2 separate regions of the Homo sapiens genome follow, and region 2 is linked to region 1. The links are contacts of gene promoters, found by promoter capture Hi-C in blood cells and fetal thymus (Javierre and others, 2016). All regions are on one chromosome and are shown on one strand. Each heading gives the region's core, a stretch centred on a gene start or on the middle of the fragment in contact. The rest is flanking DNA. Distances are from core to core; before and after follow the strand shown.

The links. The method cuts DNA at HindIII sites, captures the fragments that hold promoters and counts their contacts. A CHiCAGO score of 5 or more calls a contact.
Region 2: a fragment that was not itself captured here is called in contact with the fragment with the promoter of GAREM1 in region 1 in 1 of 17 cell types (megakaryocytes); the score reaches 5.2 in megakaryocytes.

What each region holds. Positions count from the first base shown.
Region 1 is chr18:32,468,398-32,475,249 of GRCh38, forward strand. It overlaps GAREM1 (GRB2 associated regulator of MAPK1 subtype 1), which reads right to left and starts at 2,485. Exons shown (of 6, transcript NM_001242409.2): 1 at 1,911-2,485. The coding sequence starts at 2,031. RefSeq lists a silencer at 2,240-2,759. The HindIII fragment of the contact is 2,356 bases long and covers 307-2,662 here.
Region 2 is chr18:32,155,969-32,162,338 of GRCh38, forward strand. No RefSeq gene overlaps it. Among named protein-coding and RNA genes, the nearest start is that of MEP1B, 31 kb to the right of the region's middle. RefSeq lists a silencer at 2,214-2,263. The HindIII fragment of the contact is 4,472 bases long and covers 1,724-6,195 here.

The sequences.
Region 1 (6,852 bases), core at 1,235-3,734:
CAGTATCTGGCAATGATTCCAAATTTGTATGTGCCACTATGATTCTCAAGCGGCAATAAGGAAATAAGAGAAATTTACAATGAAGAATTGGAATTACATATAGTGATCAAAATCCATTCCACAGCTTGAAAGGACACAGTGTTAAGACTTGCTACCCACGTCCTCATTTTAGAAAGAAGTGTGGGATGAGTACACTGCTGATTCAGATCCTTTTTATGAATGGCAGGGATAGAAAAGTGGGAAATAAAACTGAAAGTCATGTCGGAAAGTGAGATATTCCACCCCTTTAAACTTTCAGTTTAATGAAGCTTTTGAGTGGCTTTTACACCACATGCAGCAATGCTCTCTGCCTAGCTAGCAAATGTGGCAGTGTGCAGAGATGAGAGAAGGTAGGAAAAGGTAAGGACTCACAATCTGCCAATATACACAATTTTGGAGGAGGAAATGAAACGCTGTGAATACAAACACACACACCAGTTCAGGTCTGCAGATGCTATTTAAAGCACACAACATTTTCCCACCCCCACTCGAAGCAGAAACGCCTCAACACACCACCTGTGCGTCCCCCCCCCCCGCCCCCACCCCACCGCTTCAACAGCTACTGTGATCTGCACTTCATTACTAGTTTTAAAACTTCCAGCTTATTCCCAATGCACCCTACTACTACCAACAATCAAACGAGGATAGCAAGCAAGCCAAGATTGTTTTCCAGCCTTCACGAACTTTCCTGCATCTATTTTTCACATCAGATATACAAATGTCTAATCAAACCCCACAGATAAGAAACAGAATAAAAACTCCTTTGTGTATGTATACATCTCACGTTACCCACTCTTCTACCCCAGGAAACAAGGAGTAACCCTAGTGCCTGTGACTCGAAATGACATCTTTCTGCTTAGTGTTCTTCTGACCTGGCCTGTGTAGTCACAGCTCTGCCTGCCTGCCAGCCTGGGCCCGTGTACTTCCACAGCTGCCCCACAGCAGGGCAGGCTTCTTTCTGCAAACAGTCTAAAATCGCATGACGCCAAAGCCCACTGAAGTTATGATGAAAACAAGAGAAGACCAAACACACCTAAATTGCCACCTTACGTGTCATCACTCTCCAACTGAAAGGTGTCTACTTGCTTGACAGTATGCGCAACTATGTGTTTGCAGCTGTCACACCGCAGAATAAACAGTTGGAGGAAGGAGTTGGGTGGGTTTCTGGTGGTCAGTTTCAGGAAATACACCCTTCTTAGTTCTGAGCTCAGGTTCCGAATCAATACGTTTTGGAGACTTATTTTTTTTTCCAGACTGGAAATGCGCTAAACCTAATAGTTAACCTTAAGCATGCCATCACTTCTGCTGAAAACATTTTCTACACACAGCCCCAAATTACTTTCAGTTGGGTTAAACAAAACAGACAAGCTGTAATACAAGGTCTCTGAGAAATGTGATCCTTTTCAATGGTCACCCAGGAGCTTTTCCTTTAAATCTGTTTGGCGGGGGATGGGGGAGATAGGGAGGAGAGCACCCAAATTAAGATGCCACCCGGAGCACAATGATATTCTCAAGAAAGTTGCCTAAGATAACTCTTCAGGGTTTCCCTGGTTGAGTAATTCTTGCAGGAGGGTGGGGAGGGATATCTGGCGTCCAAGATTACGATCTGCAGAGGTCTCCCTATGTTGACTTTTTTTTTAGGGCGTCCTTTTTAATTATACTGCAAGGACTCTGATTTCCACCTCCTTGTCTGCTGCTGGGGGGAGTTGAGAGCAACGCGCCAGGGCTGCGGCAGCCGCTCGGGCCAACTCCGGCGCTCAGGGGCGGGCAGCCCACTCCCCGCGGGTCCCACCCTCTCCAGCACACGCGCGCACACCCGCGTGGAGACGGCTGTCCTCGCCCGTCTGCCCCGCGCCCCAGCTGGGACTCACCGTTGTCCAGGCGCGCGATCTGGGGCAGCCGGTAAGTGCTGACCAGGAGGTCGAGCGGCACGGCCACCGAGCTCCACTTCACATCCTTGAGGCTGCAGCCCAGCGAGGGCGCCGGGTCCATCTTCCCCGAAGCCTCCTGTCCCGCGCTCCCCCGCCGCCGCCACCGGCACCACCCGCGCCTCGGCGGCCGCCGCTGCTCGCGCTCGCGGTCTGGGGCGCGCGGGAGGCGCCGGGCAGCTCCGGCCGCGGGCAGCCGGGGGGGCGCGGCGACTGGGGCGGCCCGGAGGGAGGGGGCCGGCGCCCGGCTCAGCTGCCGCTGCGGGGCATGGCTGGGGCGCCCCGCGTGCCCTCACGCCCGGAGAAGACTCAGAGCAGCCGCGCGGCTGCGGGCGGCGGCGGCGGCCCGGGTGGCTGCGGCGGCTCCCGCTCCGCCTCCTCCTCTGGCCCTGGGTCTGCAGCTGCGGCGGCCGCCCGCTCGCCTCCTCCTCCTCTTACCCCTCCTTCCCTCCGCCTCGAGCGTGTGAGGAGGAGCCGCGGGTCTGAGAAACGCCATAGCAGCGCTCCCAGCACTGACTAATCAACAAGGTGCGAGCAACGCCTGCGCAGCTCTGGGAGACACCGCCTCCGCCTCCCAGGCGCCGCCCGCTCCGCCCCCAGCTCGGCCTCCGCCTCCCGCAGCTCCCGCGGCCCGGCAGGCTCGCGTCAGCTCCCCGGCCGGGGCCGCCAGCGCCCGCGGCTCGGCGCGCTCCGCAAGCTTTAGCTCTCGCTCCCCCGTCCGACCACTCGGGCGCCCTGCAGTCTCGCCGGGTGCTGCTGCGCGCCCCGGCTCCTTCCCCGCCCAGGCCCGTCCCCGGAGCCCGGGAATTGCCGAGCGAGCTCAGGTATCGCTCCCTGAGTCGTGGTGTCGGGCACCGTCCGCCTCCACTCCCATCCTGGCAATGCGGTGGCTAAATACAAGGCACAAAAGATACCTTTAGTGGCGCTCCCTCTTGCTTCCCGGTGACCCAGACTTTGGTCAGAAGAGTACCACAGCCCAACGGGGCTGCGGACGGCAGGCGTGGAGCACGCCTTGGCGTTTCCCCTCAACCCTACTCCTCTACCATCGGAGCTGGAAATGACTCCCAACAGTCTCAGCTTTGGCTACTAGATAAGATAAAAAGGGCAAAGCACCGAAAAGCGGAAAGGTGGTGGGTGATGAGTACCCACATACAGGAAGGTGGCCATTCGGTCTAGGACCTTCACTGAGTGAACGAGCTGCTGGAGGCGACGGGAGTTGATGAGGCCACCAAACACCGTAGACACGGAGATGGGAAGGGAAAACTAGGTTACTGGGAGGCTGCTGGGGTCAGCTGTTCTCACCCGCTTTTCCCATTCAGTTCTCTTCTCATCTTAAAGGTTGGGATCATTCTCGTTTTCTAGGTATATGTACCAAGACATTAGGTAGTTTGGCAAGATTTTATAACTCGTAGATGGCCGTGCTGGGATTCAAACCTACAGTTTGCTTTGCATGATCAATCATTCTCTGTCTCTCCCGATGTTTGACACGGCCTGCTCACTGTGGACAGAGCTCAGAATATAAAGGTGGCATGTCCTGCCTTGTATGCTAATCTGCTTTCTTTCTTTCTGTCTTTCTTTCTCTTTCTTTCGCTTGCTTAACATTTTGTTAAAATAGCAGAGGTGAGTGGTTGCTAAGGTTGCGTATCTGCTCTGTTTTCAACACGTATTCAATGTTCAGTGCTTGATAAGGTACAGCAAGTACCCGCTTCGCCAGCCCAAGGGGACTTGAAAACATCCCGCTGCCTTTTCGTGGCCTGGCTTAAAAGGTCTGTGCTAATAAACCACTCCATTAACATTTGAAGAAAAACACAGATTCTTCTACACCCACCTTCCTGATCCTCTCACTTTGAAGCATTAGCGATAATTTTCACAAAATTCATCTGAAAGTTTTGACCTTTGGGTCATTCACATTGATTTTTTGAAAAAGTCTTGGAAAAAAGTGGGAAGTATTTTACTATAGAGTGTATGCAGAATCAGAAGTCCATAAAGTTCTAAGAATTGCTCACATAGAGTGTTTCGGCCGGGCGCGGTGGCTCACGCCTGTAATCCCAGCACTTTGGGAGGCCGAGGCGGGCGGATCACCTGAGGTCAGGAGTTTGAGACCAGCTTGGCCAACGTGGTGAAACCCCGTCTCCCGTCTCTACTAAAAATACAGAAAGTTAGCCGGGCGTGGGGGCAGGTGCCTGTAATCCCAGCTACTCAGGAGGCTGAGGCAGGAGAATCGCTTGAACCCGGGAGGCGGAGGTTGCAGTGAGCCGAGATCGTGCCATTGCACGCTGGCCTGGGCAACAAGAGCGAAACTCTGTCTGAAAAAAAAAAGTTTCAAAACTTTAAAGATTTAAGTGCCAGCTAATTTCTTTTTCTGAATAATTAATCACTTCTGGAAATAAAGCTCAGAATCCAAAAATGACATAGGAAACATCTAAGATTGGGCAGGGTCAAGGGTCTTTCAACCTGTAAGTAGATCCTAAACCCTTATATGGTAGGCTGATTTTTAAAAAAATGACTTTGTTACTTTTATATTCTCTTTAAAAGCTTCAGAGAATAAGAGAAGTAGTTTCCTCTCACAAAAGGACTGGTGACTTTTGACCTAAAGACAAGATAAAAAGTAAAAAGATTAATGTAATCAACTTTTTAAAAATCAATAAAGGACTTACATTAGATCTGTTATTGCTGACCTTGCAGAAAAGGTTTTATTTCAATCTTGAGTATTAAAAGGAAGAAATTTTAGTGAGCTGCAAATTCTTAGTAAGTTTCATGTCCTGGAAGAACTCTTACAGAAGGATTTTATTTGTGAGATGGAGAGTTTTGGTTAAACTGCCGAAAACAAAAACAAAAAGCAGTTGAGAGGGGTAATCTTTCAGTCTGGCTGAACTGTACTTCCAAACATGTTTCTTAAGGTTGTTGGAACAATGCAAACTGTGTATACAAAAGCATTACAACTTGGTGCAGGGGCAAAGCTTACAGGACTTTGAAGTTTATGAAAAGGAACATCCAAGAAAAGTTTTCTTTAAGGCAACAATTGATGCACTGGTCCCTTGTTCCTACTAAGTACCTTTACAAACTGAGATTTGTGAATTAAAATATCAGCTCCAGAGCCAGATGGCTTGGATTTGATTAGTGGCTCTGCTTCTATTTAATGTCATGGGAAACTTGCTGTTTCCTCCTCTGAAAAATGAAGATAATAATAGTACTCATCTCATAGGGTTGATATGAGAATTTAATCATTTAATATACATTTAGCATTTAGAATAGTGCCAGATGCATAGGAAGTGCTATGGAAGTATTAACATTTGCTATTATTATTAAAAACCATTGGCTTTAAAGGGCAAAATTTATAGAAAAGATGAAGAGATAAATGCTGACGATTTGAATAGATTTGAAAAATAAGAAATGATTAGATTTGGGAAAATAGTTATATCAGGCAAGGAGTAGAAGAACACTTTTTAAATGACAAACCTAGCTGGGGGACTTCATTGCAAATCTAGAGTCTGTGGGGTTAATTTATTCCACAGTGAACCCGCCTCCTACCCAGCAGACCCAGGCAGTGATCATGAAGACTCTGTATATGCTATTGATAAGCCCAAAGGTGAATCAGGTAAATGACACTACAGGACTCAAGTGACAGACACTTGCCAGCTTCCTAACTGTGAGTCTACTGTTTATACATGCATAACTTGTTAATTCTCTGCATTATCAGCTTTGCAAGATAAAAATATTACATATTGGTTTTCCTCATATCAGAGTGTCCTGGCTCACATAATATTCTAGCAGTCAAGTGCAATATCAAAGTTCACAGCCCTAGTGATTTTTTAGGTCTCCCCATTCTTTCCCCTTTCACTTAATTGCCATGTGATCCCCAGAGCTAACTTGAAAGACAGTCCCTAGCTAATGCTTTTTGCAGTATCTATATCGTCATTGTCTATGAAATTAAGTGTAGAGCCCTTGGCATGGCGTAGAAGGTTCTTCCCTTATGTGGCTGGGTCTGCCTCCCTAACCTCACTCCTGTTTGGCTACCTTCTAATACCCTATGATCTGGGGTAGCACCTGCTTGTAGTTGCCCAAATGTATCATGGTAATGCATACCCTTGTAGAGCTTGTTCTCTCAGCTTAGAATGCCTTTCTCCTTTTCTCTTACTGTGAAAACTTCATTCCAGCTCCAGCTTCCTGCATTCCATGAGCTGCTGTATCTCCTCCTCCAAGGAGATTCCTTTTTCTGTGTTACCATTGCACCTGCAATACCCTCTTTTGACTGTACTAGTTGCACTCTGATTAATTATCTTCCTATATTAGCTTTGCCTACTAGACAACAATTGACTGTGGACACAAAGAGTTTTTTTTTTTTTTTACCTCTGTTTTACCAGCTCCTATTACCATGCCTGGCACACAGCAAGTGCTCAATTAATGTTTGTTGAATTGAGTAATCAATGCACTGAGTCAACTTCTCACTCTATATTATTTTGTAGGTCACTGCAACTCCTTTTTTTCCCCAAGCCAAATGGTATACAGCTTTAAAATTTTATTTACTTTATTTTTTCATTTCATTTTTTATTTTATTTATTTATTTTTTTGAGACAGGGTCTCTCTCTGTGGCCTAGGCTGGATGCAGTGGCACTATCATGGCTCACTGCAGCCGCCAACTCCTGGGCTCAAGTGATCTTCTTGCCTCAACCTCCCAAGTAGCTAGGACTACACTCATATGCCACCATGCCTGGCTAATCTTTTTTATTTTTTGTAGAAACCAGGTCTTGCTATGTTGCCCAGGCAGGTCTTGAATTCCTGGGCTCAAGCAGTCTACCCACCTAGACCTCTCAAAGTGCTGGGAGCTACCACGCTTGACCTTGTATCCAGCTTTATTAAGATACTTTTCAGCCGGGCCCAGTGG
Region 2 (6,370 bases), core at 2,710-5,209, 310 kb before region 1:
TATGAGCTCCACATTCCCCTTCCTCTACATATCTGGGTCTCCTCTCCTAGGAGACCTACTTCTGGGTCTAGGTCTCTAGAGATAGCTACCAGCCACCAAGACCTTTAGATGGTTTACTTTGACATGTCATCCCTGGATTTATCTCCTAGGACTGGGACACAGGAACTTTTAGCTTATTGTACTTATTCATTGAGTGAGTTATTAGTGTGTGCTAGAAACTGTGCTGAACCCTGGACAGACAATATTGATCAGGAAGACATAAGGCCTGCCCGTATGATGTTTTACAGTAGTGGGAGAGAGATATTCTATATCCACACTCACAAACCCTTAGGAGCCTTAGACACTATAAGAGGGCCACACCTTGTGGCAAATGTTATCTGTATAGTAACAACATCCCATAAAAATAAGAAATATGGCTCACAACTCTAAAACTCCAAGTGTGTTAAGTGCTATGATGCTATGAGAGCATATAATAGCAGAATTTGGTTACGTCAGGGAGGTCACAGAAAAGATTCCAGTTAAAGCCAGATCTGAGGGAAGAGTAGGCATTAACTAGACAAAAGTGTTGTACAAAACTAAACTAGTGCTTCTTGTCTTGTCCAGCATGGTAAAATTTTGAACCTCACAATATTTCTCAGACCTCTCTACATGATGAGTAGCCGATTTTTTAATTGTCTTCTGTGGAAGGCTCAGAGTAGCCGATTTTTAACGATTGGGGAAATACACAGTCCTATGAATCCGCTAACAACTCTAAATAGATTTCTAATTTATTAATCACCCAACCTTTAGATACATTTGAGCCATATTTCTTATTTTTGTGGGATGTTATTACTATACAGATAACATTTGCCACAAGGTGTGGCCCCCTTATAGTGTCTAAGGCTCGGGTTTGCTGCCCATGAGTTATCCATCTCTGAGCTAATCTGTGGGCATGTACTGTTGAGACAAGAGAAAACAAGAGCTTTCTTCTCCTCTCTCTTTCCTCTGCTACTAGGTACCAAAAGTCCATTTTTTCAGTGGCTTCTTGGGGACATCAGTGTCAGCCAGTTTGCAGTCCAGTTTCAAGAGTGAACAGGCTGTGAAAAGACCTAGTATTGCTTTAGAATAAGTAATTGTGAAATGGAAAAACTATTAAGGGAAGAGAGCACAAATATTGGGTAATAGCAGTGGTTGGTCAAACTGATTCAGAAAGCCCTTATGGTTCAGTATATTTTATTTGGGTAAAAAGGGAGGAGTTCTCTTAAGAATGTTTAAATACATTATTTTAAAAAAATTGAAACAGAGTCCCACTCTATTGCTCAGGCTGGAGTGCAGTGGCTCATTCATAGCTCATGGCAGCCTCAAACTCCTGGGCTCCAGCCATCCTCCCACCTCAGCCTCCCAAGTAGCTGAGACTACAGGAATGTGCTACTATGACTGGCCAATTTTTAAAATTTGTAGTAGAGACAGGGTCTTACTATGCTGCCTAGGCTGGTCTCAAACTCCTGGGCTCAAGTGATCTTCCTGCCTTGGCCTCCCAAAGCACTGGGATTGCAGGTGTGAGCCATTGTGCCTGGCATAAATACATTCTTCAAAGCACCTGGAGTGCTGTTTGGGCTGGCAAAGCTCTGGGGATCAAGTCCCAGAATGATGCGTGCACTTCCTCACCAAAATAGTGCTGCTTTTCCTTCTGTCTGGGATGTCTAACCTGTCTCCAAGCTTGGCCCTCTGACCTGCAGGCTTAAGCTTCAGCCTGGACTCTTCTGTGAAGGCATTGCTGACCCCTTCAGAGAGATTCTAGAGTGATTTCCCAGGCCCCCCTGTACAGCGGTCCACCTGCATTATTTGCAATTGCCACATGGCCCCACATGTCGCCTCATGAGGCTGGGAACTCCCAAAGGCAGTGGCTAATAGGTGCTCAATAAATGCTTGGGAAAGGAATTCGTTGTTGCTTTTCGGATACTGGGGATTTAAAATAAATATTACAAAGTATTTTGGGAGAAAAATATAATGGTGTCTACTAGAGTTCAAAGCAATGTGCAACTCTGCCATAATTTTAAGCTCTTGGTATACTTGTTATCCTGAATGATGTCAAGTATTGTAATCCAGTTTCGTGAATCTACGACAGGACAACTAGCAGCTCTGGGGGAAGGAAGCACAAAACGCAGAAAGCAAAAGGAACCGCATCAAATTACAAGTAGAGCTAGGCAAGCGGCACATTGAAGAGGCTGCTTAAAACACACACGTGGGATGGCCACAAGGTGGCAGCTTAGAACCGTGACATTACGCATCGACCATTCAAAGACCGAACAGCGGGGAATGTGGCAGGCTGGAGAGTGGAGAGCGGGTTTATTGGGGCAATTAGAACCGGGAAAGGAGAAAGAGACCGTGATTTATTGTATTTGGTGCGCACATCCTTATAATTTTGTTTGCCCTAGAAAAAAGCACAGGCACACACACTTAAATGCATATACACAGCAAAGACTCATCAATTTCACTCTTGAGAAGCGTTAACCCCAGAATGAGTCTCCTGTGCAGTCGCGAGCTGGCTGTTTCCTGAGGTGGCCTCACGTCCTTCGTACCTTTTATGGCGTGCTTTTATAGGCTGTTTAAGAACTTTTTTTTTTTTTGAGACGGAGTCTCGCTGTGTTGCTCAGGCTGGAGTGCAGTGGCACGATCTCGGCTCACTGCAACCTCTGCTTCCCGGGTTCAGGTGATTCTCCTGCCTCAGCCTCCTGAGTAGCTGGGATTACAGGCGCACGCTACCATGCCCGGCTAATTTTTGTAATTTTTTTTTGGTAGAGACAGGGTTTCACCATGTTTGCCAGGCTGGTCTCAACTCCTGACCTCAGGTGATCCGCCTGCCTGCCTCGGCCTTCCAAAGTGCTGGGATTACAGGTGTGAGCCACTGCGCCCGGCCAGGACTTCTTAAGAGTACTTTTACTTTCTCTGGGGTTCATGTAACATATTTACTTTAGAACCTCACTAAGTTGCTACTCTACTCTGCTTATAAAAATATACATATAGAAATCCATATATTATTATAGACTATATACATCTATATTATACGTTATAATAATATGTAGCATTAATTGATGAATCAGGAAACCAGTGCTTTCTACTATGCCTTTGAAATAGTGGGTGCTTAATATATGTCTGCTGAACTGAAGGGAAACAGAATACATATTTTGGAAAATGGAAGGTGTGGACACAGTAGCAGAGGAATATTGCAACACAGTGTAGAGGATCATAAAGGGGCAAAAGGGAGAAGAGAATGTCTACCTCTCTGCCACTTCTCAGAGCTAACCTGCTGTACCCAAGGGTCCATGAAACTCAAGGTCCCATTCCCTAGTTTTTGTTTTGTTTTTTTGTTTGTTTGTTTTGAGACAGAGTCTCACTGTCGCCCAGGCTGGAGTGCAATGGCGTGATCTCCGCTCACTGCAACCTCCGCCTCCCATGTTCAAGCCATTCTCCTGCCTCAGCCTACCAAGTAGCTGGGATTACAAGCGCGAGCCACCAAACCCAGCTAATTTTTTTTTTTTTTTTTTTTTTTTGAGACTGAGTCTCGCTCTATCGCCCAGGCTGGAGTGCAGTGTCTCGATCTTGGTTCACTGCAACCTCCACTTCCCGGGTTCAAGTGATTCTCATGCCTCAGCCTCCCGAGCAGCTGGGACTACAGGCGCGTGCCACCACGCCTGGCTAATTTTTGTATTTTTAGTAGAGATGGGGTTTCACCATATTGGCCAGTCTGATCTCGAACTCCTGACCTCAGGTGATCCACCCGCCTTGGCTTTCCAAAGTGCTGGGATTGCAGGTGCAAGCCACCATGCTCGGCTCTAATTTTTGTATTTTTATTTTTATTTTGAGACAGAGTCTCACTCTGTGCCCAGGCTGGAGTGCAGTGGCATGATCTCAGCTCACTGCAACCTCCACCTCCCAGGTTCAAGCAATTCTCCTGCCTCAGCCTCCGGAGTAGCTGGGATTACAGGCGCCGTCCACCATGCCAGGCTAATTTTTAAAATATTTTTAGTAGAGACGGGGTTTCACTGTGTTGGCCAGGCTCGTCTTGAACCCCTGACCTCAGGTGATCCACCTGCTTCGGCCTTTCAAAGTGCTGGGATTACAGGTGTGAGCCACCATGCCCAGCCCCCTTCCTTAGTTTGATCTATACTATCACCACGTCTACATGTCCTAGTGATTTGAACAGCAGCCTTTATAACATAATCGTGAAACTTTGGATTTCTAGAAGGCAAATGACGTAAGAGTCAATGCCTTGTCTGAATGATCATATTTCCATACCTTGCCCAGAGGAGGCATTTAATAAAGATTGGTTATAAATTTAACCTATCCAATAAGAAGTCCAAAAGCTAAGCACTGAACCACATGAACGTGGGAAATTACTGAATTAAAAGGAAATGTTATTTACAATAAACCATATAGATAGATACTACCTAAAACGTAGCTTTTGTTAAACTTCCAACAAATCGAAATTATATTTTAGTAAAATCATAATTTTTCAGACCAGCAGTAGGGTAAAAACTATGGATATGGGGCAAAGGGTGTGGTATCATCCTGTCTCCAGGAACTTATAACTTACTGGAAAACGATAACATATCTATAAATGCACTTTCAACAACATATGGCAAAAATAAGTGCTATAGATGCTCAGAGGAGGGAGGAAGGCTTCATAGAAGGGATTAGCATTGGCCTGGACTTTGGAAGGTGAATCATAACTGTATAACAGGAGGGGGAAGCATTCTTGGGGCAGAGGCTCAGGAAGGTGTGTTCAGGTGAGGGTGAGTAGAACAGGGTGCCCAGAACAGTTCAGGAGGGTGTGGCACAGGGAGAAAAGACTGAGATGCAGAGGGGCCAGATCATGAGGACGCCTGGGAGTCTGTCCTCAGAGAGTCTGTCCTTTACCCCAGAGGCACTGCAGGCCTTTGAACAGGGTAATGACCTGGTGGAGGCTAAACTTTTGAAAGATTATGCAGGATATATTGATATGGGTATAATTAGAGACTTAGATGTTATTTTGTTTTATAAAAGTCATCCAGACAAGCTGGGCACAGTGGCTCATACCTGCAATCCCAGAGCTTTGAGAGGCCAAGGCAGAAGGATCACTTGAGATTAGGAGTTTGAGACCAGTTTGGGCAACATAGTGAGACACTGTCTCTACAAAAAAAAAAAAATCAAAATAAAAAAAATTTACCAGGCACAGTGGTGCGTTTGTAGTTCTGGCTACTGGGGAGGCTGAGGTGGGAGGATCACTTGAGCCCTGGAGATCACAGCTGCAATGAGCCATGATTATGCCACTGCACTCCAGCTTGCGTAACACAGCAAGACCGTGTCTCAAAACAAAACAAAACAAACAAAAAACAAAAAAAGTCATAAAGTACAACCTGTAGCTATTGTACATATATAAATATTCAAACATATGATAGCCAGTAGGTTTATCATATAATTGGATGACAAAATAAATTTGAGAACCACATTCTATTTTAAATATATTAATTTTTATTAGTTGAAAAGATTTTAAAGATATACAGTATTTGAGAAAATGACAAAAACAAATCTCATGAAATATCTTTCATTTTCACTTTAAATATTTTTTATGAACAAAGTACAAATAATGGCCCACATTTCTTATAAATAGACTAATTTTTAAAGATGTAGCTGGGGAATGGATGATGAATGAAGAGGACAATGACTACGACTTTATTTAGAAGCAAATCCCACCTAAAGTGCCAAGGGCATGGGCTTGCTTTTGAAAGGGGCTCTTTGCAATCAGCTGGGCAGTGGTTTGCTATGCACGGTGGCCCTTCAGAGGACCAGCTAACCTGAAAAGTTATCCCTACCAGGATCACCAGCCAACTGCAGCACAAACCTTCTGTAAAGAAAAATGGGCTGGGTGCGGTGGCGCATGCCTGTGGTCTCAGCCACCGGGGAGGCTGAGGTGGGAGGATCAAGGCCAGGAGTTGTGGTGAGACCAGCCTGGGCAACATAGTGAGGCCTGGTCTTAAAAAGCAACTTAAGTTTCACTCAGGTATCCACAGTTTCATTTGGGTAACAGAAAAATATACCTGCTGTAGTCTGGCAGTTCCTCAAAAGTTTAAACATGGAATTTCTTTCTTTCTTTTTTTTTTTTTTTTTTTTTAAGATGGAGTCTCACTCTGTCACCTAGGCTGGAGTGCGGCAGTGCTATCTCGGCTCACTGCAAGCTTCACCTCCCAGGTTCACGACATTCTCCTGCCTCAGCCTCCCAAGTAGCTGGGACTACCGGCGCCCACTACCACGCCCAGCTAATTTGTTGTATTTTTAGGAGAGACGGGGTTTCACCATGTTAGCCAGGATGGTCTCGATCCGCCCGCCTGGGCCTCCCGAAGTGCTGGGA